Regions from separate parts of the Homo sapiens genome. Here region 2 is linked to region 1. Evidence: promoter capture Hi-C in 16 types of primary human blood cells and fetal thymus (Javierre and others, 2016). All regions are on one chromosome and are shown on one strand. Each heading gives the region's core, a stretch centred on a gene start or on the middle of the fragment in contact. The rest is flanking DNA. Distances are from core to core; before and after follow the strand shown. Region 1 holds the start of CTNNA1 (catenin alpha 1). Region 2 overlaps LOC105379193 (a long non-coding RNA gene).

Region 1 (4,191 bases), core at 47-2,546:
AACTCCTACACTCATTCTTCATTCTTCCTGTAAAACAAAATAACACATCCTAATTAATTCGATTTATAAATTCCGTTCCTTAAAGTAACACCCACCTGTCCAGTATTTAAAAATCACTGCTGACTAAACACAAATATTCGCTCCACAAAATGCCTATCCTGTCCCAACAATGATGTAAGCATTTCCTTCATCATAAATATAAAATGCCCCGAATTTAGTCGTAGACTTGACATATCTCGCTCTTTTCCAAATAATTGTAAATTCTGTACAAAACACACGCACCAAAAAAATGTCACCAAGATGCAAGAGGACGTAAGAGGGAGTCAACCTTGGAACTGGGCCAACCGCCGCCTGCATTACTGGGAAGCCACTGCTGCCAAGCAAAGGTCAGGCATTCATTCAGGCAACATTTTTTCCAACAAGTGCTTCACACTCGCACGCACACACACGCTCCTTTAAAAGTCAACAACAATTAAAAAAAAAAAAAAACCTCTCTAATGCCACTCCTGAAAACTAGGGCTGAAAGCTAAGTGCGTCCAACCGACAAGAAACCCAGGAAAGCTGAGTAATCCCCGAGTCCAAGTGGACGGTCACGCCAAAAGTCCACACGGGTGTGGCCCACCTACGGCGAAGCTGTATGGGAGAAGCCCGGGCTCCAGCCTCCCGGTTCGCCGAGCCCGCGTCCCCGCCGCCCCATCGGGAAGTCTCAGCGGCCGGGAAGGGGGAGGGGGCAGGAACGCCTCGGAGCCGGACGACAATCACTTCCCGGGAAAGCGGCTCCCAGACAAGCCGCCCCAGGGAAGGAAGGCGGCCGAGGGGCCCGGCGCGGGGCTGCCGCGCGCGCCGAGGCCGCGGTAACAAAGTTTGGAAACCGCGAGAAAACTTTTCCAAGAGGAAACGCGGCGGCGGCGCTGGGCCTATAGTTTCTCCTCCCCAGCCCAGGCGGCCCCCCGACTTCCCGAGCGCTGGGAAGCGCCGGCCGTGCCCGCCCGGGCCCCATACTCGGGCCCTGCGGGGGAAGGGACCGCCGGCCCGACGCGGGTCCCACGCCCGCCCGGGGCCCAATTCCCGGCGACGTCGCCAAAGAAACCGCGCCCCGCCCGCTCGCCCGCCCGCGGCTCGCGGGGCCCAGCTTGGGACGGCCCGGCCCAAGGACCCTCTCGGCCTGGCCCGAGAGACCGCGCCCGCGAGGAGGGAGGTACGAAGTTACCTGCGGCTAGCTGGGCGAGCGCTAAATTCCAGAGGCCCGAAGCAGACGGGCGCTGCTTTGTCTCCCTCCAGTCCGGCTAGGAGGAGGAAATGGGCCGCCCCACGCCCCCGCCCCCGGCCCGCCCCCCGCCCGCGGCCCCCGCCCCTGTCCCGGCCCCGCCCGCCCTTCCTGGCACCTCCCTCCGACTCGCTCTTCCCGGCGCCTCCCGCCGCCGCCCCGCCCGCTCCTCCCGGCCGTTCCGGCCTCCGCTTTTGGGGAAAGGGAAGGCCCCCACCGCGAAGAGAGTCTGGCAACGCCGGACCGGGACCCCCGAGGGACCTCTTCCTCCCCGCCGCCCACCTCAGAATTCCTTCCTCCCCGGCCCCTAGTGGGAGCTTAGGCCGGGAGTGACCCCTGAGAGGGAGGAGGAGCGGTGACTCCTGGAACAGCCCGCGGGCGGAGAGGGCTGCGCGAGGGCAGGTGAGTCACCGCTCCGCGCACAGGTGAGGCTCAGGGGCGGCCTCGCGCGGGCCCCCACCCCGGCGGAATCCCAGAGACGCGACCAGGGGTACTGGGCACGCTCCCCTCAAGAGTGTCACAGGTGTCCCGGAGTCACAGTCTTCTGGAAAAGTGATCTAGGCCAACTACCTGGCTTTACAGAAGGAGAAGCGGAGGCTAAGGAAAGGCCCCACAGCTTCGGGACACAGTGGAACTAGAATCTGACTCTCAGGACCTTTCATAATGTGAGGTGGAAGCGCCCCTAGAATTCACCTAACCCGTCCCCTCACTCCACAGATGGAAACACCCGAAGCCCTCTTGATCAAGGACTTTTTTTTTTTTTTAAGACGGGGTCTCCCTCTGTCGCCCAGGCTGGGGTGGAGTGTCGCGATCACGGCCCACTGCAGCCTCAAATCCCTGGACAACCGACCCTCCCACCTCAGCCTCCGGAGTAGCTGGAACTACAGACACAGAGTCTCACTATGTTGCCAGGCTGGTCTCAAACTCATGGGCTCAAGAAATCCTCCTCAGCCTCCCAAAGTGCTGGGATTACAGGCTAGAGCCACCTTGCGGGGAGGACATTTACAAACACAAAAGAGGCACCGCAGCAGCTGTCCCTTTTTGGGCTTGTTCCCGCCCCGCCCCCAGCACGTCCCCCCTCCCAGCTTGTCCCCCTCCTCCAACAAATTTGAGGGACCTGACTTCTATCTCTATTCCTCTGGTCATTTGGGGCATTTTATTCTTACCCTTTCTTATCTTCATAGTGAATACTCCAAAAACAAAAGAAAACAAAATTACAAAGCAAACAAACAACACAAAAAAACAAAAACTACTACATGCTCACTATCATCCTGGTATAGAAAACCCTAATGATGTTTCCCCTGCTCACGGGATGATGAATAAGATAGATTTCAGTATTGGCCTATAAACCTGAATAATGCAAGACGACGATGTCCACTGCTGGCCTTGTGCTGAATAGAGAGCAGGGTGCTAGGGAGACCTGCCCTTACCGTGTTTACCCTCTACTCCTCACATCTCCCTCTCCCCCAAGGGAATATAAACTTCTGGAAAGCAGGAGCTGTATCTCCTGCAGCACCCAGCACATTGCCCATCCCCTAGGGAGTGCCTAGTGAACATCTGTGGGTGAATGTGCCCACTGTAATTCAAAGTACTGTGGGCCTGTGCTAGTTAACAGATGCTGACAAAGGGCAATAGGACCATGAAGTGGGGAGAGAACAACCTTTAAGAAAAAGAGGATGGGCACAGTGGCTCACACAAGTAATCCCAGCACTTTGGGAGGCCAAGATGGGTGGATCACATGAGCTCAGGAGACCAGCCTGGGCAAAATGATAGAACCCTTGTCTACAAAAAAATACAAAAACATAGCTGGGTGTAGTGGCACCTACCTGTAGTCCCAGCTACTTGGGAGGCTGAGGTGGGAGGATCGCTTGAGCCTGGGAGTTCAAGGCTGCAGTGAACCATGACTGCACCACTGCACTCCAGCCTGGGCAACACAGTGAGACTCTGTCTCAAAAAGAAAAAGAAAAAGGCAAACCCTGACAAGGTCATTCTTGTCCAACTACCCCTGTCCTGTTTCTGGCTGCAGGGTCTTTGCTCCTGTAGTCTCCTCTGCCTAGAGTGGCTTTGGCGTCCCTCTACTTCACCTGGCTAACTCAGAACATAATTCATATATTTTGGATATTTGTCCCTGCCCAAATCTCACATTGAAATGTAATCCCCAGTGTTGGAGGTGGGGCTGGTGGGAGGCATTTGGGTAATAGAGGAGGATCCCTCATGGCTTGGTGCTGTCCTCCAGGTACTAAGGGAATTCTCATGAAATGTAGTCGTTTTAAAGTGTAGCACCGGCCAGGCACAGTGGCTCACACCTGTAATCCCAACACTTTTGAGAAGCCAAGGTGGGCGGATAGCTTGAGCCCAGGAGTTCGAGACCAGCCTGGGCAACATGGTAAAAACCCATCTCTACAAAAAAATACAAAAAAATTAGCCAAGCAGGCTGGGCACCGTGGCTCACGCCTATAGTCCCAGCACTTCAGGAGGCCAAAGCGGGCAGATCATCTGAGGTCAGGAGTTCAAGACCAGCCTGGGGCAACATGGTGAAACCCCATCTCTACTAAAAGTACAAAATTAGCAGGGCATGGTGGCATGTGCCTGTAATCCCAGCTACTCGGGACGCTGAGGCAGGAGAATCATTTGAACCTGGGAGGCAGAGGTGGAGCCGAGATCACGCCATTACACTCCAACCTTGGCAACAAAAGCAAAAGTCTGTCTCAAAAAAAAAAAAAAAGCCAGGCATGGTGGTGTGTGCCTGTAGTCCCAGCTACCTGGGGGGCTCAGGTGGGAAGATCACCTGAGCCTGGGGAGATTGAGGCTGCAGTGAGCCATGATTGTGCCACTACACTCCAGCCTGGGCAACGGAGTGAGACCCTGTCTCAAAAACAAAAAGATGTGGCACCTCAGCCCCCTCCTGCTCCTGCTTTCAGCAT
Region 2 (4,123 bases), core at 843-3,342, 170 kb after region 1:
GTTTCACCATGTTGGCCAGGATAGTCTCGATCTCCTGACCTCATGATCTGCCCGCCTTGGCCTCCCAAAGTGATGGGATTACAGGCGTGAGCCACCACACCTGGCTGGGATCACAACTCTTTAGACCCTACTCTTTCCCTGTCTTTGCCCCAAAGAGGCAGTGTGGAAGAGAGCTACCCTTGCTTACTAAGATCAGCATATCTTTAATCTGTGGCAACTTCATGTAAAATATGGAACAAGAAGAAAATAACCCCCAAAACTCCAGGGGTTTTTTTCCGAAAAATGTGCCTCAAGATTTATTGAAACGTCTGAATCTCATTTTCAGCACATTAAAGATCTGGATTGCAAATGTACAGGTTATGTATTTTGTGATGTGTTTCTGATAGAATTCAGGGATCAGGGAAGGAAAGATATTATTACTGATAGATTCTTTGAGGGTGAAGGGAGGGTCTTAGGAAACTGACTTCAACTTAAAAAAGAAAGGTAATTTGGTTTTAATCTTCAAAAAAAGTGCAGTTCATTTTGAAAAAAAATCACTGAGACTCACATTTTTGTGTTTAACAACAACCTTGAAATTGGTCTGCCTCAGAGGACAGCATGATTCTGGGCTACCTTAGCATGAATGATTTATGACATTCATGAACTTGGCAACTACATCAGTTTTTCTAAACCTGGCACCCAACACCACCTGCATGTTAAGTGAAGATTTATGATTTATAAAACTCACCTCATTATGCAGAGGTACATGAATTGTCTTATATCTGTAATCTATAACTCCCAAGACAGATAAGAAGGCAGCTATGTCACAGAATTTATGGCTCCTACCCACTAAAGCTGAAGTTTTAGAGAAAAACTGCAGAAATAACTGGCCCTTTGGAGAAAAATAGCTTTAGCTAACCATTACACCCCCAAATGATGAAATGGCTATAACCCACCATTATATCTTACATGAACAAAGAGGCTAACGGCAAAAGTCACTTTAATCACAGCACTGAACTATGTCCCCCTTTTGAATGCTGCGGTAATACACAGAACCTAAGTGACTTCTTGGAAATATCAAGCACTCTGTCAGTTTAATTTTTTCCCCAGTTTGGTGTCTGAGACCTCTTGCTGAGATTTCTCATCAAGTGGCCCAGCCAGACCCACAGACACGGACTTCAGGGAAGACAATTCAATACCTGGTTGTGTCTAATGGCTTCCTGCATATACCCCTAAAGTGAAGAAGATCACATGTTGATTTGAATTCTGAAAAGCAGCTTGTTCTCAGAGATATTTTAGAAATGCAGCCTCTCTCTCCCTATACCCTGAAAAAATAAAAAATAAATAAAAACTTGGAAGAACAGAGCATTCAGTGGAATAAACTTATGTAGCTTATGGAATAAGATTATATAGCTAGCCATTAAAAATGACAAGTATATGGGACCAGGTTGACATGCAGAAATCTTTAGACAATAGTAAACAAAATAAGCAGAACACAAAATGATAGAAAAAAATGATGTTTCAGTCCTAGAGATTTTCAATGGTATAAAGCTAAATGAAAAACAATAAAACCCTAAATAATCTATTTTCAAATTTCCCTACCAATAAGGAAATAGATATATACACATGGCTGCTGACTGCCCTGAATCTGAGAAGCACCCCACGCCTCCCTCCTCTGCAGAGCTCTCCAAAGAACATTCTACTCTCTCTGGCCTTTGAGTACTCTCAAAGAACACCAGCACTCAGATACCTAGGTCCACCGAAGAAAGCTGAAAATGTAAATGTCTTTACGTAGCAGGAGGAAAAGTACTCGAAAAAAAGAAGGTAGGAAACCCCCTTCCGTATTTGATAACTAAATAAACCTTTTAGGGAGATTGCTCTTTGCTATTTACTTAGTAACTTGATTTCTGAAATGTGTCTGGGATTCTCCCAGTTCTGACTTTGAGCTCTAGTGCCAGTGTGGTCACTCTAACTCGTGAAAATGATACTCCACTCACAAAATGGTGTCCTAGAACAAGAGGACAATATCAATGAACCACAGATTACACACCAGAAAAAGTGAAACGTCTTTGGCAACTGGGACTATACTCGAGAGCAGATAGATGCACAGACAGACCCCAGGGAAGAATTGTATTTGGGTTCAGGGACTCAGTTACCACTCCTCCTTAAGCGGCCTGTTGACACTTTACCACTCAAACACAGATGCTGTTCTCCAGGGCTCTGGGTGCTGATGTTCTGTTGGCTGCCTTTAATCCTGAAAGTGACTTCCCCAGTTCAGGCCAGGGATTCATGCTGTAATGGAATGAGAGAGAAGTGGGCCAGTACCATACACATGTACACCAATGCACACACCCAACACAACCTAGGACAGAGCAGACTTCCTTTGGGAAGCCATGCAAAGTTGCAGAGCACAGGCAGGATGGCCTCATTCACGGCTTCTACCCATTGGCACGCTTAGAAACAGTTTATTCTGGCAGGGTGCAGTGGCTCATGCCTGTAATCCCAGCACTTTGGGAGGCCAAGACGGGTGAATCACCTGAGCTCAGGAGTTAGAGACCAGACTGGCCAACATGGTGAAACCCCGTCTCTACTAAAAACACAAAAATTAGCTGGGCATGGTGACGCATGCCTGTAGTCCCAGCTACTTGGGAGGCTGAGGCACAAGAATTGTTTGAGCCTGGAAGGTGGAGGATGCAGTGAGTCTTGGTCGTGCCACTGTACTCCAGCCTGGGCAACAGAGCAAGACTTTGTCTCAAAAAAAAAAAAAAAAAGAAAAGAAACAGTTCATTTTTTTATGGAAGAGAGGTGTTCATGAGACCCTTATGCAAGCAGATCCCCTTTTCCCTTGAAGAACTCGTCAAAGCGATCCTTCCAGGTAAACTGGCTTGCTTCAGGTCATGGCACACACACACACAAGCCCTCTCACCCAACCCCTCAACCACTAGTTGAATAAAACAAGCAATTGGCACTTAAACTAAAGGCTGGGCCTGTAAGGTAAACCAGTGACCCATGTGACACCTTGGCACTTTTCTGGGCCTTTACTCTGCCCGACAAGGCTTTCCATATGGGATGATGTAATCAAGCCACACAGAGGAAGGCAGCAAGGGTGGTACAAGCAGCCCCAGGGATACTTTGGGGTACAGGAAAGAAGTATTTAAATCTATTTCTATTTTATCTCTTTCATTTTTGTTTTCTATTTTTATGTATTTGTAATAATAGTACTATATACACATATGTAGTTTATAAATACATGAACATACACATAATGGGAGGATGTGCGCCAATATTTTTCTAATAGGGACATGTAATGAAAAAATTTGGAGACAAGAAGACACCACAGAGTTTGGGCTATTTCTAAAAAGACGTGGTCCTTAATCTCCACCCCACCGACAGAATCCCCCTCTATTAAACATGCAGATTCCACGACCCATCTCAGACCTGAATGTCCAGAGGTGGGATACCAGTGCTCTGCATGCTTAAAGAACCACCTAGTAATTCTGACTGCTACTGAAGTTTGGGTACCATTGCAGCACAAGAATTAGAGAAGCTAACATAAAAAGGCTGAGCTAGAAAAAGGCAGAGTCAGTGCAGATGAGAACACCAGAAATCCATTTCTAAGAAGAAAACAGGTAACTGGCCGCTACAGCTCCTGATGGAGCCTGACTAAGAAGTCCCTGTTCTTCCAGCATTCTGGCTGTATGGGTATTGAGACAATGGCTTTACTTTCCCAACTAGTCTTCCATTAAACTCTCATCTCCTAAGGAAACCTGGGTATTTCCTCTCTTGACAGTTGAGGAACAGGAATGGGGAAACTGAGAAACTGTCTTGGTCAGCTCAGGCTGCTACAACAAAATATTGTAGACTGGATGGCTTAAACAATAGACAGTTCTTCCTTACACTTCCCGAGGCTGAAAGTCTGAGATGAGGGTGCCAGCATGGTGGGTTCTGGTGTGGGCTCTCTTCATGGGGAAGGGGAGATCATCTTTCCTGTTTCCTCTTGTAAAGGCACTAATTCCGGCTGGGCGCAGTGGCTCACGCCTGTAATCCCAGCACTTTGGGAGGCTGAGGCGGGTGGATCACGAGGTCAGGAGATAGAGACCATCCTGGCTAACATGGTGAAACCCCGTCTCTACTAAAAATACAA

What was found. The method cuts DNA at HindIII sites, captures the fragments that hold promoters and counts their contacts. A CHiCAGO score of 5 or more calls a contact.
Region 2: a fragment that was not itself captured here is called in contact with the fragment with the promoter of CTNNA1 in region 1 in 7 of 17 cell types (M1 macrophages, megakaryocytes, M2 macrophages and 4 more); the score reaches 8.6 in M1 macrophages.

The regions. Positions count from the first base shown.
Region 1 is chr5:138,750,530-138,754,720 of GRCh38, reverse strand. CTNNA1 (catenin alpha 1) reads right to left here and starts at 1,296. Exons shown (of 18, transcript NM_001903.5): 1 at 1,211-1,296. CTNNA1-AS1 (CTNNA1 antisense RNA 1) reads left to right here and starts at 797. Exons shown (of 2, transcript NR_134244.1): 1 at 797-1,198. RefSeq lists enhancers at 129-695, 696-1,263 and a silencer at 967-1,406. The HindIII fragment of the contact is 6,352 bases long and covers 1-4,191 here.
Region 2 is chr5:138,581,976-138,586,098 of GRCh38, reverse strand. LOC105379193 (a long non-coding RNA gene) reads right to left here. Exons shown (of 3, transcript XR_001742900.1): 2 at 2,169-2,271; 3 at 1,010-1,304. Among named protein-coding and RNA genes, the nearest start is that of HSPA9, 8.6 kb to the right of the region's middle. The HindIII fragment of the contact is 9,043 bases long and covers 1-4,123 here.